4 separate regions of the Homo sapiens genome follow, and all the other regions are linked to region 1. The links are contacts of gene promoters, found by promoter capture Hi-C in blood cells and fetal thymus (Javierre and others, 2016). All regions are on one chromosome and are shown on one strand. Each heading gives the region's core, a stretch centred on a gene start or on the middle of the fragment in contact. The rest is flanking DNA. Distances are from core to core; before and after follow the strand shown. Region 1 holds the start of CHDH (choline dehydrogenase). Region 2 overlaps DCP1A (decapping mRNA 1A). Region 3 overlaps LOC105377094 (a long non-coding RNA gene). Region 4 has its middle 35 kb from the start of DCP1A.

Region 1 (3,536 bases), core at 1-2,500:
GCGCCTGCCACCATGCCCGGCTACTTTTTGTATTTTTAGTAGAGACGGGGTTTCACCATGTTAGCCAGGCTGTTCCCAAACTCCTGACCTCAGGCAATCCGGCCGCCTCAGCCTCCCAAAGTGCTGGGATTACAGGCGTGAGCCACCGAGCCCGGCCAGACTTGACTTTTTTTTTTTTTTTTTAACAAATGAGCCATCATACCAGGAGCTGAGTTCTTATCAAACGGCCGGTGAGAGGCCAAGCAACAACCCTAAATGCTACCAAGCTCAAATTGTTGGCCTTGCAGCAACTACAGCAAAAGGGATGAATTCTTCCCTTTAGTGCAAAGAGCCAAGAGGGCTTCTGAACTGACACAGAGGGGAAGGATAGGAGCTGAAGACATCAGGAAACAGTGAATGGGGTTTGTCCACCAGCAGGTGACTACGGAGCTTGATGCTATATGCTATTCTAAGAGGGCAGCGGTATCATTTCAAAGGTTATTTGGGGGATGAGCTATTTTCTCTTCAGTGACCCAGAAGATTCCCTCGATCATTCAGGGTACTGGGGAAGAAAGGCAACTGCCTTCACGAGTGAACATGGCAATCAATATGGCCAAAAAGGGAGGGGGTACTAATGGAGAAACAGTTCTTGTGCCCCAACAGGTGAGCAGACCCCAAGTAACAATAACTACGTGCCAGGCCCTTCGCCGCTAATTGCAGGCCATGTCGTTATACCTTAAGAGACCCTGGTGGGTTCGGTACTGCCCTTCGTTTTACCGTTCGGGACTTGGAACTTGGTGAGCATAAATGACAGAACCAACAGTACAGGGTGGCATCTGAGACCGGGTCTGTCTGATTCCCACGCCCCTGACTCAAGCAACCTGACGCCGATGTCCGGGGCTGCCCTGAGGGTGCAGGCATGCCCCTTGAGCCGGCAGTCCGCGCACGCCTTCGGGGCAGCCTGGACTGGCGGATCAGACGACGTCAGGATCTGGGCTCGAGGGCCGGGAGATGAGGGAAGAGGTGCTGGCGGGGGCTTACCGGCTCTCGGGGTACGGCGCTCCTGCACAGCGCGGCCAGGCTTAGCAGCACGAGCGACATCGCCGGGCCACTGCGCGGGATCCAGGCCACCCGCACGCTGCGCTTTTATCCCGGCGCCGCCGGGCCGCCCCTTCTCGGCTCCGCCTCTCGCAGCGCCGACCCATTCCCGCCACCCGAACAGAGGGCGGGCCCGCTGGCCCCCTCCCAGGCTGGGGCAGGTCGCAGCGCCCTCGCCTGCTGGGGCTCGGAGGGATGGGCCGTGTCCGAGCGCTGGCGGAGCACGGGCCGCCGCGGCGCGCGCCTACCCCCGCGCACACGTGCATGCAGTGAGCCAGGTGCATCAGCTGCACCCGCCCTCGGGCTTCGCGCGCCTCCGCTGGAGCCCAGCTAGCCTCGCGGCTCCGGGGCCGACCGGGTCGGAACTGCTGCGTCCCCATTCCGGACGCAGAGAGCGCGCGGGGCGCCGGCGCCGCCGGTTAAAGTGCCGCGGGGCAGGGGCCGGGCCGCGGCCACCCGCTCCTCCCGCTCCGGTCCCGACTGTCGGGCTCTCGGCCGAGTCGCCCCGGGTGAGTAGCCGCGGAGGCGCCCCGACCACCCCGCAGCAGCGCCGCCCGGCCGCTAGCCCGGAGAGGCCTGGGGGCCGGAGGTTTGGGGCCGGGCTGGACGCCGAGACCCGGGCCCGCTTTACACAATCGCCCCGCCGCGCGAAGCGAAACGGGTGGAACGCAGACTGCCGAAGCTCACTGACTCCTTTGAGGGAGCGAATTCTTTCAGCTACGCGGGGTTAGAGCGGTAGGAGTGCCCGCTGCCCGACCCCAGGCTTTCTGGTAAATGTCTGTTTCCACCAAGTGAGTTCGGACAGCAACACCTGGGGCTCCCAAAGCGGAAGCCGTCAGCACTGGCGATTTGGAGCTGCGGTTCTCAAGTTTCCCTGGCCCGGGATCTCTAGCGCCGCCTAAAATGAGATCCAGACGGCAGGTCCGGGTCAGGCCCGGGATCTGCATTTAACGAGCCTCCACCCACGCCCCCGTAATTCGTGGGTGGGTGGCCCAGGGACCATCCTTTGAGACACAGTGGGTTTGGGGGAAAGTTCACAAAAATCAGCTGGGCTAACAGTGGAGTCACAGAGGCTGGAACTGCTGCTTCAGCCCCCTCGGTTTGCAAACGACAGGGTTGTGGTGACCAACTCAGGGCCATTTAAACTTGTAGGCAGAATTAGCTCCATTCTACAGATGAGAAGACGGAGGCCTAGAGAGGGGTATGGAACTTAGGGGTGTGTTGTCAGCTGGTGAGAGGCTGTACTAAGTCAAGCAGCTGTTTTAGCTGAGGCCCTACTTGTGTGCCAGGCCTGGCCCACCTGCCAGCTTGATTAAGGCTTGCATGGACTGGGGATCAGCCAGGGGTTTGGGCTCTGGCATGCATACGTGTGGAGTTGCAGGTAGCATTTTCAGAGAATTGCTCTGTTTCCTGACCAAGGAACTCAGTTGAGGTTGTGGCCGCACCCCTGCCTGGGACTGGGCCACCCTGAGCCCCTCATTCCACCTCTCTGAGTTGCTTTGGGCCCTGTGGCCCTTGAGAACATTTTCAGCTCTAATAGTCATCTTCCTGTTCAGCAAATACCTGCTGGGTGCAAAGGTGAACCACACATGGGTGCTGGCTGATGGGTACTCCTGGAGTGAGGATGAGTGCAGTGAGAATTATTTTCAAGGACACAAGTACCCGCCTTGCTGCGGAAGCCCAGATGAAAACAGCCTCGTCTGCAAGCTCAAGATTGTGAACTTTGTCCCATGGTGCTGAGGAACAATGGTACAGGCTTAAATGGTCATCCATTTTTGGTTTTAGAAAGGCCACCTGGTTGGCTCTGCAGGGCAAAATAGAGGGCTAGTCCCTCTGAGACGAGCGAGCAGGCAGCCATTCACTAACATGCGTTCATTCCGTGAGTATCTGATTCTGTGCTGTGGGCCAGGCTCTGGGCTGTGCTGGCTTTTCAGTTGTGTGCCAGGGCAGGCCCTGCTGTGAGCTTGGTGTTGTTCGGCACACAGGCTTTGAGACAACCAGGGTGCGGAGGTTAGGCCTGGAGACAGGGTTCATGAGTCAGACTTTCTCAGGGGGCAGTGGAGAGGAGAGGAGGATAGAGCCCTGGGGAGGAGAGCTTGCCTGAGGAGGTGGGGAGGTCTAAGGGGCTGCAGCAGGAAAGCCCAGTAGTGAGGGAGGAGCTCATGGGGTCAGATGGGGCAGAGAGACCAAGGGCACTGAGGCTGGTTGGTGGCAGTCACAGGAAGCCTTGGCAAAAGGATAGGGGAGGGGGTTTTGTAAAAAGAGAAGGGCTGAGGTTCTTTCTCCCCCCAGGGGAAGAAGTGTCAGGTGAGGGTGGTCTGGAGGTGGCTGAGCTGTAAGAAGGAGGAGTACTCAGGCAGGGGCTGCCAGGCAGAGACCCAAGACCCAGGCCAAGTGGCTTTCCTGCTGTTCTGGGTTCAGAATGACACTGCCCTGGCCCCCTGGGGCTTAGGGATGGG
Region 2 (3,536 bases), core at 749-3,248, 510 kb after region 1:
GAGGAGGAGTATGATCTGACTTAAATTTTTTGTTTACAGATGTAAGTGCTGATAATATTGTATAATGTTCTAATGCATTCTTTTTTGAAATGAAAATAAAGTACATAGTAGATAACATTTCTACAGATTAAATGGTAACTACATATTTTTTTTTCTTCTATTAAATCTAAGGTCAGCTTCCCCTTACCATGGTTTTACCATTGTGAATCGACTAAATATGCACAATCTAGTTGAACCAGTGAATAAAGATTTGGAATTTCAGCTCCATGAACCATTTCTTCTGTATAGAAATGCAAGCTGTGAGTATATCTGTTTTATTATAGTTATTACATTTAAAATTGAGTGACTTTAGTTTCTATCAATCCATTATTTAGGAAGTTTCAAATTACAAAACAAAATATGGTCTCTACTTAATGATTATAAATGAGTCTGTTGGAAAGATCAAACCTTTTAAACTGGGCTCTGAGGCCAGAGGTGGTGGCTCATGCCTGTAATCCCAGCACTTTGGGAGGCCGAGGAGGGCAGATCACTTGAGGTCAGGAGTTCGAGACCAGCCAGGCCAACATGGTGAAACCCCGTATCTACTAAAAATACAGAAAAAAATTAGCCGGGCTTGGTGGCAGGCGCCTGTAATCACTTGAACCTGGGAGGTGGAGGTTGCAGTGAGCTGAGATCGCGCCACTGTACTCCAGCCTGGGCAACAGAATGAGACTGTGTCTCAAAAAAATAAATAAATAAACTGGGCTCTGAAACTGGAAACATTCTTTTGTATATAATTTAGTTTACTATTTCATTTAATAGCACTACATTTCTGTTGTCGGTTTATTAAAATAAGGTTTATGCCTTTGTTTTTTTGCAGCTGTGGACTATCAGCTGCCCATGTCCCTAAGCAACAGAACTTAGTTTGGGACACACAGGATGGGAACAGATACAGATAATTCTTTCCACAAAGAAAGTATTATTATTACTATTATTATTTTCTTTTTTTTGAGACGGAGTCTTGCTCTGTTGCCCAGGCTGGAGTGCAGTGGTGTGATCTAGGCTCATGCAAGCTCTGCCTCCCGGATTCATGCCCTTCTCCTGGCTCGGCCTCCCAAGTAGCTGGGACTACAGGCACCCGCCACCACGCCTGGCTAATTTTTTTGTATTTTTGGTAGAGAAGGGGTTTCACCGTGTTAGCCAGGATGGTCTTGATCTCCTGACCTTGTGATCTGCCTGCCTCGGCCTCCCAAAATGCTGGGATTATAGGCATGAGCCACCACGCCCGGCCAGAAAATATTATTTTTGCCCAGAATAGTGGTGATGGGTTTTTTTTTTTAAGATATTTATTACTTTTTCTACTTTATTTTGTCTGAATATGTTTCTAAGTAAGGTTTTTCTATCTGTTTATTTAATTGAGTGTCTACTGGTTACCAGCACTGAGCCAAGAGCTGTGGTGCTTTAATGTTAACGATACAGTTACCTATGTGGTGTAAGCAGGCAGTTAAGTCAACTGAGACTCAGAGATGCATAACTATTACCCTGTTGGAGAGTTAGGATTATGACTATTCTTCTGCTTTTTAGTCCAGGGTTCTTTCAGGCATTTTTACAATCTCTAATAACGATTGGATGTAGTCAGCAAAGCTAGAGTGGCCCTTCCAAGAAACTACAGTACTAAAAAATATACTTGATTCCAGTGTATTAGTATGGATATTGAAGGTATGGGTGTTTGAGGACAGTTTGTTGGACATTGACTATAGGGATATGAAAACTGGTTATGGTAACAATGATTGTGCTCTAATTGGCATCTAAGGATATAGTTGGAGAAATGTTGCTTCTAACTTAAAAAGTAAAAGTTAATGTGTTTGAATTTCACTTGGCGGGGGGGTAATTGGTCTTGGGGGATGTCTTCAGTATAAAATAGAAAAAGTTACTAAAAATTATACACCTCTTAATTCCCTGAATGAGAAGTAACAAGGCCTATTTTAAAGCTAGAAACCCCCAAGTTCTTTTCCGTAGCACACTTTGAAGTATAAGTGAAATAGGTTCTATCTTTTGACTTCTCAGTAAACTATTTGTCCAGGTAATTACCTCTCAGATTTTAAATTCTGTGGACATATTAGACATGCTTTGTAATAGCTGTAAGTTCAGATGGATTTATTTAAACTAATGTTAACAATGTAATTATTTCAGATTGCTCTTTTCTTTGTACTGAATATTCCATTAAAGGGAAAATTCGGCTGGGCAAAGTGGCTCAACACCTGCAATCCCACGATTTTGGGAGACCGAGGCAAGCAGATTGCTTGAGCCCAGGAGTTTGAGACCAGCCTGGGCAACATGTCAAAACCCCCACTCCACAAAAAAATAGAAAAATTAGCCAGGTGTGGTGTCACACACTTGTAGTCCCAGCTACCCAGGAGGCTGAGGTGGGAAAGTCGCTTGAACCCAGGAGGCTGTCCAGGCTGCAGTGAGCCATGATTGCGCCACTGCACTCCAGCCTGGGCAACAAGCGAGACCCTGACTCAAAAAATGAAAAGAGGGTGGGAGAAATTCTGCAAATGAATATGGATCCAATTTTTTTTTAAGTGAAATAGGCTTAATTCTGTTCTTTACTGCCTGGAAACTTAATCTAGCCATCACTCCTAAGTGGTTTGATTATTAAAGTAGTCAGTAGGGAAAGTTATCCGGACCCAGTTACCATTTAGCATAAACCTGAGATGAATTGTATTATATTTTTTTCACAAGGCAAAAGTCCTGTGAAATTGAAAGTGTGACATAACACAAATGTAATTGAACCATGAGTAACCAGAAGCTAACTAATTAGAGCTTCAGTTGTCTGGAAATATTTTTATAGTTCGTGTGTGGAAGAAATGAAGGCAAATTATAAGAAAACAAGCTAATACTAGGTTTTATTTTCTGAAAATCAAGCAGATATCCAGAGAATAACCTGGGGTCGGCATTAAAATGTCAATATTTTATAACTTTAACTCCACTGTAGTATCATAGGTTAAATTGTTATAGTGAGACCTAAAATCATCAGGAGTATTTATTATGTTAACTAGAACATTCTTGGGGAGAAAGTGCATTAATGCATTTTACTTTAGAAAATTTTCAACTGATTGAAACAAAAGTTTTCTTAGTTGAACAGAAAACTCACTTAACCAGGTCATTTCATTAGGGAAAGTATTTAAAGGAATAGCTGTATTGGGGAGAAGTGATAAGACAACAGAAAATGATTTTGTGAGTGTTAAGCCCTCTCGAGTGTGTGTTTTGTCTACATAGTCTTAAAAGTGGAAAATAGTCTTGTCAGGTCAGCGAGCTATTAAGTTGTTTAGGGATTTGTTCTTTAAATAAAAAGTTAGTATCTGATTATGCATACAGGTAATTATACCTGATTCTATAGCTGCACTTCTGCCATTCTCTTGTGGGAAATACCATCAAGACACCTGACCCATTTAACTCAAGTGACACCTTCATATCCAACTTCTTTCATTCAAATTAATTTTTGGAGTTAATGTACTAGAACAGTGAACCATAACTTTTTTTCAGTTCTAAGT
Region 3 (3,536 bases), core at 529-3,028, 480 kb after region 1:
AACTAGAAATACCATTTGACCCAGCCATCCCATTACTGGGTATATACCCAAATGACTATAAATCATGCTGCTATAAAGACACATGCACACGTATGTTTATTGCGGCATTATTCACAATAGCAAAGACTTGGAACCAACCCAAATGTCCAACAATGATAGACTGGATTAAGAAAATGTGGCACATATACACCATGGAATACTATGCAGCCATAAAAAATGATGAGTTCATGTCCTTTGTAGGGACATGGATGAAATTGGAAACCATCATTCTCAGTAAACTATCGCAAGAACAAAAAACCAAACACCGCATATTCTCACTCATAGGTGGGAACTGAACAATGAGATCACATGGACACAGGAAGGGGAATATCACACTCTGGGGACTGTGGTGGGGTCGGGGGATGGGGGAGGGATAGCATTGGGAGATATACCTAATGCTAGATGACGAGTTAGTGGGTGCAGCGCACCAGCATGGCACATGTATACATATGTAACTAACCTGCACAATGTGCACATGTACCCTAAAACTTAAAGTATAATAATAATAAAAAAAAAAAGAAAAAAAAAAAAAAGAAAACAGATCCAGACAAGTTAAATGACTTCTTCCAAGGGGCCAGCCATCAGATGGAAAAGCCAAGATTATTTGAGTTTCTGATTTAGAATGCTCAGATGCTAGGTGTCTTAAAGCTTTCAGTGAGACACTGCTTTAACATATCAAACATATCACAGCAAATAGGAAAAAAGAAGAAGTTCTGCCCAAGACATAGTCCAAAAGAGTGTAACCTCAAAGAGAATTCATATGATTTTCTCTGAAACAAAAACAACAAAAAAGAATTGGCCAGGTGCAGTGGTTAACACCTGTAATCCCAGCTAATCAGAAGGCTGAGGTGAGAGGATCACTTGAGCCCAGGAGTTCAAGACCAGCCTGGGCAACATGGCAAGACCCCCATCTCTGGAAAAAAAAATCAAAAATCAGCCAGGTGTTGTGATGTGTGCCTGTAGTTCCAGCTACTTGGGGAGCTGAGACAGGATGATCACTTGAGCCCAGCAGTTGGAAGTTACAGTGAGCCATGATCACACCACTGAACACAAAAGCTTGGGTGACAGAGTGAGACCCTGTCTCTTAAAAAAAGAAAGAAGCCAGGCGCGGTGGCTCACGCCTGTAATCCCAGCACTTTGGGAGGCCGAGGCGGGCGGATCACCTGAGGTCAGGAGTTCGAGACCAGCCTGGCCAACATGGTGAAACCCCATATCTACTAAAACTGCAAAAATTAGCCAGGCGTGGTGGCACATGCCCGTAATCCCAGCTACTCGGGAGACTGAGGCAGGAGAATTGCTTGAGCCAGGGAGACCGAGGTTGCAGTGAGCCGAGGTCGTGCCATTGCACTCCAGCCTGGCCAACAGAGTGACACTCTGTCTCAAAAAGAAAAAAAAAAAAAAAAAGAAAGAAAAACAATTGGATGTGGCATCTTCTCCTGTCCTCTCAGGCTATCCTAACCCTATCCATTCACCAAGGCTCAGTTGCGTTACTGCCTTTTCTGTAATAGCTTCTCTGAGCGCTCTTCATCCGGACACCCAGCCCTAGATATCAGGACCATATACTACTTTATATTGCTAGTTCCCCCCTCTTCTAACTTCTTTTTCTAACTCCTAATTACCTGATGAAAATTTTTTGTTCGTTTGTTGTTTGAGATAGGGTCTCGCTCTGTTGCCTGGGCTGGAGTGCAGTGGCACAATCATGGCTCACTGCAGCCTCAAACTCCTAGTCCCAAGCAATCCTCCCACATTAGCATCCCCAACTGCTGGGATTACAGGCATATGCCACCATGGAAATTTTAATGAGAAGATAAATGGTAACAGGAAGAAAAAAAAGAAAAATCATGGACATTCCACAGATTGGAATCCAGATATGTTCCTAAGATATCCAGAATTAACTCCATTCCAGAGGAAGCATCTTGACTTGGTTGCACCCCATCTGCAGAGGAGGCAAAGCCAAAAACAGACCTTCCAAAGTCCAGTTCTGTGGGAGTGAATGCACTGAGTTACTCAGCACTGAGGAGGCAGGAGACAAGGAAACCTGTGGCTAGCTCCAAAGCAACGCCAGCTCCAGTCACAAAATTAAGAGTTAGGTCAATCACAAGGATCTTTCAAAAATAGTTCCCAGAGTTCTTATGCTATCTAATAAAATTTTATGGACACTAGAATTTTTATGGATTTCTCCTTTCTTGTTTCACAGCTCAGTTTTATTATTTTGCTAGCAAAAAACTATCTTTCATGCTTTGGTGAAACATCCACTATAAAAGCCAGTAGTAGGATAGATCAGGTAAAATACATAATACCTGGCAATGGCCCTCTAGACCACCATGAGTCCATTAGCATTTGTTTATGGGTTTTGCTAAGTGATTTCTTGGAAGCCAAAGGGTTAAGATCCCAGATGAGTCGTGAGGAAGAACAAGCTTGTGGGATGAATGCTGTGGTGGTAAATGCTGGGTCCACCTCTGCACACAGGCTCTGTCATTTCATATATCGAACTGCCCATTTTTCCCTAAATAAAACAAGGGTAATCATACTTGCCCTGTCCCGGATTGAGTTAAAGGAGATAATATATATGGACATTCTACATAATGGGTTAATATAGCAGGGAATATATTGAAGATCAAAGTACCAAAAGCATGGTGCTTTGTTCATTGTGGCAGAGCTCTGATATAGTTTATCAGTATTATTATCCTGGAACTGTAGGCCCAAGATTGTTTTGTCTATTCAAAATTGAACTACCTAATGTGTTCATCATGTAAACTTTGGCCTCTTTATACTTCTACACTTCCATACTTCCATACTTCTATAAATGCTTTTCCAAAGAATCACAATAATTTCTAATAAATCTACCATGGATGTGATCAAAAATTGAAATGCATAAATGTTTATTGGAAGAAACACTACTGAGTCCTCAAAAGCATATTGACTATGTTTTTGGTTTAAAGTTAAAAATATTGGCCAGGGATGGTGGCTCATACCTGTAATCCCAGCACTTTGGGAGGCCAAGGCAGATGGATCACCTAAGGTCGGGAGTTCGAGACCAGCCTGGCCAACATGGTGAAACCCCAACTCTACTAAAAATGTAAAAATTAGCTGGGCATGGTGGCGTGCTCCTGTAATCCCAGCCAAGGTGGGAGAATTGCTTGAACCAGGAAGGCAGAGGCTGCAGTGAGCTGAGATCGCGCCACTGTACTCCAGCCTGGGCAACAGAGCGAGACCTGGTCTCAAAAAAAAAAAAAAAAAGTATTTTAGCACACCATACAAATATCTGATGGTGATGGCTTTAAATAAAACTGATTCAGTCAGGGCAGTGGTGTCTCATGCCTGTAATCACTTTGGGAGGCCAAGGCGGGAGGATCACTTGAGGCCAGGAGTTTGAGACCAGCCCGGGCAACAGAGTGAGACCCCCGACTCTACAACAAAAGTTAAAAAATAAGCCAGGCATGGTGATGCATGCCTGTGGTCCCAGCTACTTGGGAGGCTGGGGTGAGAGGATCACT
Region 4 (3,536 bases), core at 358-2,857, 460 kb after region 1:
GCTGGAGTGCAGTGGTACAATCACAGTTCACTGCAGACTTGACCTCCTGGGCTCAGGTGATCCTCCCACTTCAGCCTCCCAAGTAGCTAGGACTACGAGCACATGCCATCACATCTGGCTAATTTTTTTTGTAGAGATCGGGTTTCACCATGTTGCCCAGGCTGGTCTTGAACTCCTGGACTCAAGCAATCCTCCCACCTCAACCTCCCAAAGTGCTGGGATTACAGGCATGACCCACTGCACCCAGCCTAAAAAACTTTTTGAAGTTTGACACAAACTCATTTAGTAGCACACATTGGACTGAATTGAAATGAGACTATTTGTAGTCTTCATTCCCTTTAGTGGAAAAATTCATCACTGTCTGATTACAGAAAGCTACCCCAGACCATGTTGGCAGTATGGTATAACATATACTAAATGCAATGTATCACCTTTCTAAAATTCAAAAATACCTTAATGCTGAAATACATTTAGCATGGAATACTTTAGATCTAGTATTGTGGGCCTGAGGCCACTAGAATACCAGTTGGGTCAGTTTGTCATGGGCACCCACCATGACATCTCTGGGTCCAGGTGGAAAGGGCAAGCTCCATGGTAGCTTCTGGGGGTCTGGCACCAGTGGCAGAGCAGGGAGTGGGGCACACCTGCCTGGTAGTGCTACTCCTGACTCAGAGCATCGCCTCCTCCAGGGGGTTTACATTCCAGCAGCCCCAATACATAGGAGGCACAGCTGAGCCATGGCCTTGCTGTTGAAATCCATTGTTAGGAGATGGTGAGGATGACAGGGCCCTGGTGCAGAGCTCTGACCTACGCAGCTGTCCATGGAAACAAAACCTTTTGGAATCCATGGCCATGGCTGGGTGTCATCTCTAAGGCAGCAGGCCAAGTTAGTGAACTCTGGTACCCAGTTAATTACACCAATTTGTTGATATCATACATACCTATCTGGAGGTTGAATTGAATTATGAACTTGGTATTGAAGTATAACAAACATGCAGAACAGTGCACATTGTGTAAGTGTACCACAAGATGAATTTTCACAAATCAAACACACCCCTGTAACCAGCATCCAGCAAAATAGAATATCCCTAGCACTGCAGAAACCTCCCTCATGTTTCCTTACAAATTATTATCATCTGCATCCCCCCACCAAGGGCAACCACAATCTTGACTTCTAAGAGTCTAGTTTTTGCAGCTTGATTTTTTAAATGAAATTCACCAAATGTTTTGCCATTAGGTAGACATGATTTTAGTGATGGCCAGATTCCCTTACTATCTTCTGAAAGTGAGACTATAAACTAGCTGGGCAGGAGGTGAGGTATAACAACCACATAAAATTCAACAAGCATATGCCCAAACCCCAACCTGGAGTTGCCTCAAAATCAAACCCTGACAGACTATAAAAAAGAAACAAAGCTTGCTTGCAATAAAGAACACAGAAGGCTGTGTGCGGTGGCTTGCGCCTGTAATCCCAACACTTTGGGAGGCCGAAGCAGGAGGATAGCTTGAGCCCAGGATTTCGAAACAAGCCTAGGGAACATAGTGAGACCCTATCACTACAAACAATTTTTCAAAATTAGTCAGGTGTGGTGGCACATGCCTGTAGTCTGAGCTACTTGGGAGGCTGAGGCAGGAAGATTGCTTAAGTCCAGGAGTTTGAGGCTGCAGTGAGCTATGATTGTGCCACTGCACTGCAGCCTGGGCAACAGAGCAAGACCCTATCTCTTTAAAAAAAAAACAGAACACAGAAACTTAATTTAAATTAGATGATTCAAATATATGTATCACTTAAAGCTTGTAGAATACTATTTTTATTGAGATAAAATTTTCACCATTTTAAACATTTTGAAATGTATAATTCAGTGGCAAATTCATGGAGTTATACAACCATCACCACCATCTAACTGCAGAACATTTCTATCACACCAAGAATTAACCCTATACCTGTTAGCAGGTGCTCCCAATTCCTCCCTCCACCCATCCCCCGTCAATCACTAATCTACTTTGTCTCTCTGGATTTGCCTATTCTGGATATTTCCTATAAATTTAATCATACAGTATGTGGCCCTTTCTGTCTGGCTTCTCTAGCTTAGCATAATGTTTTCAAGGTTCATTCACGTTCTAGCATGCATCGGTATTTCGTTTCTTTTTATGGCTAAATAATATTCCACTGTGTGCCACATTTTGTTTCTCCATTCATCAGCTGGTGGCCATTTGGGTTGTTTCCTTCTTTTGACTATTGTGAGTAATGCTGTTATGAGCATTCATAAGTAATGCTGTTATGAGTAATGCTGTTATGAGCATTCATGCACAAGTTCTTGTGTGAATGTATGTTTTCGGTTGTCTTGAGTATATACTTAGGAATGGAATTTCTGGGTTATAAGGTAACTGTTTAACCTTATAAGGAACTCCCAGACTGTTTCCTGAAGTGGCTGAGGATTTTGCCTTCCCACCAGCAATGTTATGAGTGTTCTAATTTCTCGACATCCTTGCTAACACTTATTTTCTGGTGTTTCTTTTTTTTTTTCATCATAGCCATCCCAGTGGGTGTGAAGTAGTATCTTACTGTGGTTTTGATTTATTTCCCTAATGACTAATGATGTTGAGCATCATTTTATGTTCTTATTGGCCATCTGTATATCTGCTTTGGAGAAATGTCTGTTCAGATTCTTTGCCCATTTTTAAATGCAGTTGTCTTTTTATTCTTTTATGAGTTGTTTAAATATATTTTGGATACTAGATCCTAATCAGAGATAAGATTTACAAATATTTTATTTACAAATGTTTTCTCCCATTCTGTGAGTTGTCTTTTTTTTTTTTTTTTTTTTTGAGACAGGGTCCCCAGGCTGCAGTGCAGAGGTGGTGTGATCACGACTCACTGCAGCCTCAACCTCCCGGGCTCAAGTGATCCTCCCACCTCAGCCTCCTGAATAGCTGGGACTACAGGCACACCACCATGCCAGGCTAATTTTTAAATTTAAAAACAATGTTTTGCAGAGATGAGGTCTCACTAAGTTACCCACATTGGTTTCAAACTCCTGGCTTCACGTGATCCTCTCACCTCAGGATCCCAAAGTGCTGGGATTATAGGGATGAGCCACCATGCCCAGGCTTCTTGCTTTCTTGATAGTCCTTTTCTGCACAGAAGTTTTTTATTTTGATAAAGTTTAATTGACCTGTTTCTTCTTTTGTTGCTTATGCCTTTGGTGTCATGTTTAAGGAACTGTTGCCTACTCCAACGTCATGAAGATTTACACCTATGTTTCCTGCTAAGAGTTATAGTTTTGTAAAATGGCATTTTTATTAAATCATGTTTTGATTTATTTAAGATGACTATCATGCCAAAGCTCCCTGGTTACAAAGGTCACAAAAATATAAAGAAAATACAAAAAATATATTTTAGTCTTATCTTCTATCACATGATGGTATAGGATGTAGTCATTGGAGTCAAATCATGGATTTGACTTCCAGGACTTCTAGGCACCATGTCTAAGTAGCTTCCTTGGAGAATCTGTGTATCCTGACTGAGAATGAGT

Evidence for each region. The method cuts DNA at HindIII sites, captures the fragments that hold promoters and counts their contacts. A CHiCAGO score of 5 or more calls a contact.
Region 2: a fragment that was not itself captured here is called in contact with the fragment with the promoter of CHDH in region 1 in 1 of 17 cell types (M2 macrophages); the score reaches 6.4 in M2 macrophages.
Region 3: a contact is called between a fragment that was not itself captured here and the fragment with the promoter of CHDH in region 1, in 2 of 17 cell types (M1 macrophages and M0 macrophages). The highest score is 6.2, in M1 macrophages.
Region 4: a contact is called between a fragment that was not itself captured here and the fragment with the promoter of CHDH in region 1, in 3 of 17 cell types (M1 macrophages, M0 macrophages and M2 macrophages). The highest score is 6.6, in M1 macrophages.

Annotation. Positions count from the first base shown.
Region 1 is chr3:53,844,133-53,847,668 of GRCh38, reverse strand. CHDH (choline dehydrogenase) reads left to right here and starts at 1,250. Exons shown (of 9, transcript NM_018397.5): 1 at 1,250-1,586. It overlaps IL17RB (interleukin 17 receptor B), which reads right to left and starts at 1,101. Exons shown (of 11, transcript NM_018725.4): 1 at 1,021-1,101. The coding sequence starts at 1,080. RefSeq lists enhancers at 1,053-1,347, 1,294-2,134, 2,135-2,975 and a silencer at 1,053-1,702. The HindIII fragment of the contact is 5,797 bases long and covers 1-3,536 here.
Region 2 is chr3:53,338,907-53,342,442 of GRCh38, reverse strand. DCP1A (decapping mRNA 1A) reads left to right here. Exons shown (of 10, transcript NM_018403.7): 3 at 172-299. Among named protein-coding and RNA genes, the nearest start is that of DCP1A, 6.9 kb to the left of the region's middle. The HindIII fragment of the contact is 5,444 bases long and covers 1-3,536 here.
Region 3 is chr3:53,362,318-53,365,853 of GRCh38, reverse strand. All of the region lies in intron 1 of LOC105377094 (a long non-coding RNA gene), which reads left to right. Among named protein-coding and RNA genes, the nearest start is that of DCP1A, 17 kb to the right of the region's middle. The HindIII fragment of the contact is 1,361 bases long and covers 1,098-2,458 here.
Region 4 is chr3:53,381,100-53,384,635 of GRCh38, reverse strand. No RefSeq gene overlaps it. Among named protein-coding and RNA genes, the nearest start is that of DCP1A, 35 kb to the right of the region's middle. The HindIII fragment of the contact is 378 bases long and covers 1,419-1,796 here.